Linked DNA regions of Homo sapiens: all the other regions are linked to region 1. Evidence: promoter capture Hi-C in 16 types of primary human blood cells and fetal thymus (Javierre and others, 2016). All regions are on one chromosome and are shown on one strand. The core of a region is centred on a gene start or on the middle of the fragment in contact, and the rest is flanking DNA. Distances in the headings are between cores, read along the strand shown. Region 1 holds the start of TAF4B (TATA-box binding protein associated factor 4b). Region 2 overlaps TAF4B (TATA-box binding protein associated factor 4b). Region 3 overlaps PSMA8 (proteasome 20S subunit alpha 8).

What was found. Contacts are between HindIII fragments. The CHiCAGO score rates a contact against its expected background, and 5 or more counts as called.
Region 2: a fragment that was not itself captured here is called in contact with the fragment with the promoter of TAF4B in region 1 in 1 of 17 cell types (activated CD4 T cells); the score reaches 7.3 in activated CD4 T cells.
Region 3: a contact is called between a fragment that was not itself captured here and the fragment with the promoter of TAF4B in region 1, in 2 of 17 cell types (activated CD4 T cells and total CD4 T cells). The highest score is 6.2, in activated CD4 T cells.

The regions. Positions count from the first base shown.
Region 1 is chr18:26,225,087-26,227,885 of GRCh38, reverse strand. It overlaps TAF4B (TATA-box binding protein associated factor 4b), which reads right to left and starts at 1,441. Exons shown (of 15, transcript NM_005640.3): 1 at 610-1,441. The coding sequence starts at 952. RefSeq lists a silencer at 802-961 and enhancers at 1,612-1,711, 1,742-1,811. The HindIII fragment of the contact is 8,704 bases long and covers 1-2,799 here.
Region 2 is chr18:26,322,622-26,325,420 of GRCh38, reverse strand. All of the region lies in intron 11 of TAF4B (TATA-box binding protein associated factor 4b), which reads right to left. Among named protein-coding and RNA genes, the nearest start is that of TAF4B, 98 kb to the right of the region's middle. The HindIII fragment of the contact is 2,452 bases long and covers 196-2,647 here.
Region 3 is chr18:26,134,356-26,137,154 of GRCh38, reverse strand. The region is part of intron 1 of PSMA8 (proteasome 20S subunit alpha 8); the gene reads right to left. Among named protein-coding and RNA genes, the nearest start is that of PSMA8, 1.9 kb to the right of the region's middle. The HindIII fragment of the contact is 2,707 bases long and covers 27-2,733 here.

The DNA.
Region 1 (2,799 bases), core at 192-2,691:
TAAACCGATTCTGACTTGGTTAAATTTAAAAATCTCTTTCAGTTGTAATACACAAGAACTTCACTGTTAGGCCGTACGCGGTGGCTCACGCCTGTAATCCCAGCACTTTGGGAGGCCGAGGCGGGAGGATCGATTGGGCCCAGGAGTTCGACGTCGGTGAGCCATGATCGTGTCACTGCACTCCAGACTGGGCGACAGAGCGAAACCATACCTCATTCGTTCATTCATTCATTCATAATTAATAAAATAAGTACAACGCACTTCTACATAATCTAAGCGTATGGAAATCCACGGTATAAACCGGTCCATCCTCCACATGGAAATTAACTTCGGCTATATTATCTCCTCCACCTAAGAGCCAGTGCCTGAAAGCCCCCCCGAATACGCTGATGTAGCTTTTTACTGTATCACTTAGGTGAAAAGATTCTTTCCTTAAATATGAAAAGAAAAACTATGTAGTAATGACACAAAAAGAATATGTTAACTGTAAAGTCAAGATTATGAAATGTTCCCGTGGCTCAGTTTTTTTAGGAGCAATCTGGAGCTGCGAATTTTCCCGTCGCCGCCAGCTGGACCGACAGACAAGGCTGGAAAGGGTTATCAACATACCTGGAGGAAGCTGCAAATTAGCAGGAAACTGGATTGTCGTGGTGTTGGGGGCTTTCACGGCGACTATCTGAGGAGCAGGCAGCCTAGGGCCGCTGCTGACTTTAGGAGGGGCGCTGACCGGAGCCACTTTGGTCACCAGGGTCCCCACGGGGGACCGCAGGGGCTGGGACGCCGTGGGCTCCACGCAGACGCTGACAGGAGCCTTAGTCACGGCGCCCAGGGCCACCGGAGTGCTCTCCACCCGCACCGGCAGCGCCCCGGCCGGGGCCATGGTCACGGTCCCCGAGGCGCTCACAGCAGCCGGGGGAGCGGCGCCGGCGGGTTCGGTGAGGCCGGCGGGCATCCCCCAGGGGCTCAGCGGCAGCTTTGGCGCTGCGGTTCCGGGAGCAGAGGTGAGGGGAGGCTTGGCGCGCGGCAGCCGACTCCGGTGCGGTTCGGGTTCCACAGCATCGCTGGGGAGAGGCGCGGGGGCCGCAGCAGCGAAGTCAGTGACGGGCGCCCGCTGCACGGCAGGACACGCGCGTCCCGGACCTTCCTCTCGTCCGCGCGAGCCTGGGCTGCCCCCGGAGCGACACCCGCCCGACCTCTCGCAGCTTCCTCAGCGGCGCTCACACGTGCGCTGCCTCAGCCCTGCGCCTCAGGCTCGGGTCCCGCTGCGGGGGAGCCTGGACTTGCGGCTCCCGGAAGGTCGTCGCTCACACCTCGAGCCTAACTGCGCAGCTGCTCCCCCGCCAGAAATTTCAAAACTACGAACCCCGAGTGCCCACAGCCCCCTACGCGCGATTGGCACGGCCCCGCCGCGCGGCCACGCCAGCCATGTTTATATAGCCACGCGGAGACCTCGCGCACGCGCCCAGGCCGCCGCCACCGCCCCGGGTTTCCCCGGGATCCGGCCGCGTGATTGGCCAAGGAGCGGAGCCGCGCCCGTGACGTCACTGGGGACGGCTCCAGGGAGCGTTAAAATCTTCCCCAGAATCGCCAGCAAGGAGGGGCGATGCCAGAAACCTATCACGTGGGAGGGGCAAGCTGCACTTGGAAAACTGCGGCATCCGTGTTCCTCTCCTTGTGTCCCCTGTAGTGTGTTCCTCGAAAAGCCAGCACTAGACTATCTCCAGGATTCTATTTTTTAAGGAGAAAATGGGGAGGACTGATTTCCGAGAAGAGTGACTCAATAAGAATTCAATCACGCATTTTCAGTGTTTTTCTCTGCTGTCTTCACACTGAAGCGTTGCTAAAATTCGCAGTTAGAATTGACATTGTAAAAATTAAAATGGCGTATAGTTTTATAGTCTGTGAGATGTGCCTATTTTCATATTTTAGAGTTAAACTGCCTAAAATCTTAAATGGAAAATCGTTTCTTCTTTGGTGCTGCTATAGGTGTCTCTATCACCTCTAAACATTAAAATTGTATGTCTGTCTTCTGAAAAACTTAATGCCTTTTGATATCTATATAATTAGATTCTAGCACTTAGATATTAAGCGTGATCCTAGATATTATCTGGATAAATAAAAGGTGTTGAGTGAATCGATATGAAAAAACTTGCCTGTTTGTAATGCAGTCAGAGAAGATGCCTTAATTTCAAGCTAAAGTCATTATATTGTATGTTTGTAGGAACCAACACTGCACTGAAAGGCGATTTTACAAGTAGGCAGATGCTATGATCTGAATGTTGTGGTGTTTTGTTTTGTTTTGTTTTGTTTTGTTTTGTTTTGGAAACAGGATCTAACTCTGTCACCCAGGCTGGAGTGCAGTGGCACCATTGGCTCATTGCAGCCTCCACCTCCTGGGCTCAAGTGATCATCCTACCCTCCTACCTCAGATTCCCGAGTAGCTGGAACCACAGGGGAGCGGCACTATGCCTAGCAAAAACGGGATCTCGTTATATTGTCCAGGCTGGTCTCCAATTCCTGAGCTCCCGCCTGGGCCTCCCAAAGTGCTAGGATTATACCCCCAACTGAGTGTTAAAATGCTAAAGCTGGAGTTGATAATATTAGAAGGTTGGGCCTTTGAAAGGTGATTAGATCATAAGGGTGGAGCCCTCATGAATGGGATTCCATTCAGGACAAATCATGTTAAAGTGATGAATATGTTAACTTGATTTAATTATTTCACGACACATACAAATGTAACATGATACCTCATAAATACATACAATTATTATTTGTTAGTTAAATACATTAAATAAATAA
Region 2 (2,799 bases), core at 172-2,671, 98 kb before region 1:
ATATACCCAGCTGGCCTAACTGAAGATTTCATGCACCAACAGAGTAGGGCTTTACAATGTTAAGGCCACTGCATATTAAATGGTTTAGCCAAGAAAATGTAATGACCCAGACCAAATGATATCAACACCATCAAATGAATCCCATCTAAAGCAACCCAAATAGCACCTTTCAACTGGAAAACACTGAATGAAGCTTCTTCAGGGCCATAGTCATATAGGCGACTATAACATATCTTCAGTGGGAAAACACCTGGTAGCCAGATCAAAAGCTCTGTACTACATGTCACTTTCTACTTATTTACTTAGATCTCAGTTTATGACTAATGATTAAAGAATTATATCAAACCAGGTGAAAGATTATCAAAAGTAAATGGATGTTCAAGAGTGGAAAGAGATGGGGGGATTTCACTTTTTTAAAAAGAGTAACTCACTTTTATAAAATCTATGGAGTAGAATTTCCTACACTGTACAGATAAAAATAAATCCTATCAGGGATGAACTGAAATATAAGGACAGGGCTAAAGCTGTGACATAAAGATTATTACAAACAAAGTCTACAAAATAATGGTGATTTCAAACTGAATCCAAATATAACCAAATGATAATTATTTTGACTTAAAAGGGCTGATAATCTTTTGTTATTTTATATATACGCAAATGTAGACAGTGGCATTAGCTGTATTAACAAATGAGTGTAGGAAAAGGAAAGCTCGGGAAAATCAGTCAGAATAGGTAGTATACAAGACAGCAGGTTAAGGAAGTGTTAGCTTCAAGCTAACTTAGTGAGGTCTTCTAGGTGGGGGAGATACCATCCATTTTGCCTAGTGCAACTAAATGTTTGGAAATACGCTACTGATATACAACAAAAGAATTCCAGCTGAAAGCTATACACAATAGAGCTTTGAATGCCATTCAATAAATATTACTTTAAAAATTCTATTCCATTGTAAATTATACTTATTATGTTTTATACAGAAACTGCCTACTATAAATCAAGATGTACTCACGTGGCCAGGCATGGTGACTCACACTTGTAATCCCAACACTTTGGGAGGCCGAGGCGGGTGGATTGCTTGAGGCCAGGAGTTTGAGACCAGCCTGGCCAACATGGCGAAACCCTATCTCTACTAAAAAAGGTATTCATGTATCTCTGAAACAACAGTGTGATTAAGGCAGAAGTAGGGAGAATCTAAGTTTGAAAAACTGTAAGATACTTTAAAGAGTTATAGTAAAAAGCCAAAAATATGTCTATAATTTTCCCACATCACAAAATTAAAAGTAAGCTGATAACAATCCAAACTAGATTGTAGATTTAGGATGTTAATTGTAATCTCTATGGTAACTGCTAAGAAGATATCTAAATATATCCAAAACGAAATGAGAAGGGGATCAAAATGGAACAAAACAAAAACAATTAAACATAAGAAGCAGAGGAAGTGAGGAACACAAAACTTATAAGGCATACAGAAAAGAAATAGCAAAATAGAAGTTATTTATCAGTAATTACATTTTAAATGTAAATGGAGTAAGCTCTTCAAAGAGACTAGCAGAATGAATTTTAAAAAATGATCAAATTATATGCTGTCTATACTTTAGTTGAAACCATACCAATACGCTGAAAGTGAAAGGATGGAAAAAGATATTCCATGCAAGTAACAAACAAAAGAAAGTAATATCAGACAGTATAGACTTTAAGTACAAAACCCTTAAAAGAGACAAACAAGGACATTATTATATATTGATAAAAAGGTCAATTCATCAAGAAGATATACACATCAAACCAGACTTCTCAAATATATGAAGCAAACAAACATTGACAGAATTTTGTTTAAAAAACAATTCCACAGCATGGGCAACATAGTGAGCCCCTGTCTCAAAAAAAAAAAAAAAAAAATTAGTTGGGTGTGGTGGCACACGCCTGTTAGTCTTAGCTACTGGAAAGGCTGAGGTGGGAGGGTGGCTTGAGGTGGGAGGGTGCTTGAGTCCAGGAGTTCAAGGTTGCAATGAGCTATGATTGCACCACTGCACTCCAGCCTGGATGACAGAGTGAGACCCTGTCTCTAAAACAAAAAGAAAAATAGAGCTCCACAATAGTTGAAGATTTTAATACTGCACTTTCAATAATGAATAGAACATCCAGATGGATGATCAATAAGGAAACAGAGGACTTAACATTATAAACCAACTATATCTATCAGACATCTATGAAACAAGAGCAGAACACACATTCTTCTCAAGTGCACATGAAACATTTTCCAGGATACAATGTATGTTAAGTCATAAAACAAGCCTCAGTACATTTTAAATGAATGATTCATACAAAGTATCTTCTCTGACCACAACGGAATACAGCTAGAAACCAACAACAAAAGGAAAACTGGAAAATTCCCACATATTTGGAAATTAAACAACATACTCTACAGTCACAAAGAATCAAATAAATCTCAAAAGAAATGAGAAAATATTTAAAGATAAATGAAAACGACAACACAACATACCAAAACTTATGGAATGCAGTGAAAGCAGTACTCAGAGGGAAATGTATAGTAGTAAACGCCTACATTATAAAAGGAAGATCTCAAATAAAAAACCTAACTTTACATCTTATGAAACTAAAAAAAAAGAAGAGCAAACTAAGCCTGAAGCTTAGAAGGAAAATAATATAAAAACTAGAGTGGAGATACACGAAATCAAAAATAGAAAAACAGAAAATTAATAAAACCAAAAGTTGGTTATTTGAAAAGCTCAACAAAATCAACACACCATTCGCTTTACTAGCAAAGAAGAAAAAGAGAGAAG
Region 3 (2,799 bases), core at 131-2,630, 91 kb after region 1:
CTTTTACTATTACAGAAACTGAAGCTTAGTGAAGTTAATTGCCTTAAGTGATACATATCTGATTTCTACATTCATGATAATGGAAGCTAATTAATATACAAACATTTATTGAACAAATTTCATGCTACAATGCAAGGAGCAGGGGCTTTAGAACTAGAAAAAAATAATTATAAATATGGGTTCCATCACTCTCCAGCTGGGTACTTTCAGCAAGCTATAAATGCTTCTGAATCACAGTTTCACACATAATAAAAGGGGATTAAACACTGTCCCTAATGTTAGATAATATACACAAAATGCCTGGTTAAAGTATTTCTTAAATGTTAGTTACTGCCTTCCTAGCCCCTCTACTGTATATTGTGCAGTAGAAATAGAAAAATGAATTATACCATCTAGATCCTCAGAGATCTTACTATCCAGTTGGTGTGAGATTATTAAATATACCTGAAATTAAAGAAAATATCAGGTCAAATAGTAAATACTGTACAATATTCTGTGGTACAGATTATAAATTCAGAAAAGACAAAGATCCAAGATGACTGGAGTGGATCAGAGAAGGCTTCATTATAGAGGACAAGTGTGCAGAGATTGTTAAAGGATAAATAAGATGCAGAGCAGCAGAAAGAAAGGTGTTTTCCCCTTTCCTCTCTCCCCTTTCTGTAGGCAGAAACACATATTAGTGAAACCAAGAAGCTGCCTCCTAAATTAAGAGGGTGGATAGGATTATGGAAGACTTTGATGGCTACATTGTGGAGCTGAGATTTGATAAAGTAGGAAATACAGAGCTAATAACAGTTTGGGGTCACAGAAAGGACAAAATGAGGAATGATAATAAATCTTATCGTTTTCATGGGAATATTGTGAAGGATTCATTTCTTTTCCCTAAGAAGAAAGGTATTACTTCTCCAAAATGTTATTTAAACAAATTTGCATTTACAGAAAAGGGAACTGAAGCAAAAAGAAAACAAGCCTCTTGTCTCCTTTCATGCTATAAGATAATCATCAACAAGGAAGTAGAACACAAAGCCTTTAATTGTGGCCCATATAATTTTTATATTACTAAATAGTATCACATCTACATACTGGTCAAAACTGGTCAACCTTGGCTTATTTGTAACTCATAATATCAATTTTCACTTCTAGACAGAATATTTTGTGACATATTTTAATAATCAAGTGCCATTAAAAAACTTTACCCTATGTAAAAGGTCACAGCACCCTCAAGGAAACACAATGAATAACTCCATGCAAACATGCAAATTATAATTTCAGAATTCTGAGACAAAAGTGTCTCATTCTTCCAATGTATCTTTAAAAATGCCCACTATAGGTATTTTTATATCCTTACCCTTTTACCGCTTATTACAAAGGAACCATCAATCAGTTCTACAGCACTCTTAAAACATGTTAAATGAGCCAATGTGGTTTCTTATTACACCCTAGTCTTCTCCTATTACTCCCTTTATTTTAGGCTCTAAAACTTGGCCATTAGTTTCTAACCATATGCTACATGCTATGCTGGGGATTATATAACTTTTTGTTTTTATCAAAATGGTACCCTTTTGGTTTAAGCTACATCAGGCTTTCCTTAAATTTATAATTCTAAAAAAATTACTTGCAAAACAGAAGCAAAACTAGTGGGCCCAATTAAATAGAAAAATACTTTTAAAACGATTCTTCTTCTAGTGTTTTTTTTTTACCACTTACATCTGTTAGATTTATAATGAAAGTGAATTATTTCCTTCTTTAACAAAGAAAGTCAGAAAATATAGACACTGCTAGACTTAGAAACGTACTGTGTATTCTCATAGCTACTGTCTCAATTTCCAAAGTACACAACAAACATGCTCATGAAATTGAGAGAATAAAAATATCCGATCCTTTGAATTCATAGGCTAGGCCTTAGAAGATTTGGGGTAATAGATCTTGTGTCACTAGGGCACTTTTGTCCTCTTTAATTTTTATAAATCACTAAAATTATTGAACGTAGTTAAAACTTGGCAGCAGTATTACTCCTACCCTGAGTATTTTTTAAGTTTTTCAGTAATGTGGATACATAAATCTAAGGTAGGGTGTAATCTCTCAAGGAACTTCCAGCATTATTTTTTAAGTGGCCAAAAAAGTGGAAGTTCTTGGACTTTTGAGCCTCTACAAGGCTGGGAAATATTGGGACAATTTTGGGATTTTTTTTTTTTTTCCCGAGACGGAGTTTCGCTTTTGTTGCCCAGGCTGGAGTGCAATGGCACGATCTCGGCTCACCGCAACCTCTGCCTCCCAGGTTCAAGCGATTCTCCCGCCTCAGCCTCCCGAGTAGCTGGGATTACAGGCATGCGCCACCACGCCTGGCTAATTTTGTATTTTTAGTAGAGACGGAGTTTCTCCATGTTGGTCAGGCTGGTCTCAAACTCCCGACCTCAGGTGATCCGCCCTCCTGGGCCTTCCAAAGTGCTGGGATTACAGGTGTGAGCCACTGCGCCCAGCAATTTTGGGATATTTTTAACGCGTGTGTTTGAACTGTGTTTTTAATCATTTCTTCATCAACAAAAGTTTAATTTTATATTGATTTAGTCCGTATTTGGGGAGCAGGTGTGGCCAACTTTTATTTTTTATTGTAACTGTTATTAAAAAACAGTTCCCAACATGAAGCAACTGTTAACTTTTCCAGGGGTCTCTGAACTACCAAGGAACTGGACCACGAGCGTTCAATAGGTAGGCTGTTACAGATTAGAAGCTTTCCCTATTGTCAATCACATCATTAACGTCCCTACACACACACACACACACACAGAGACACACACA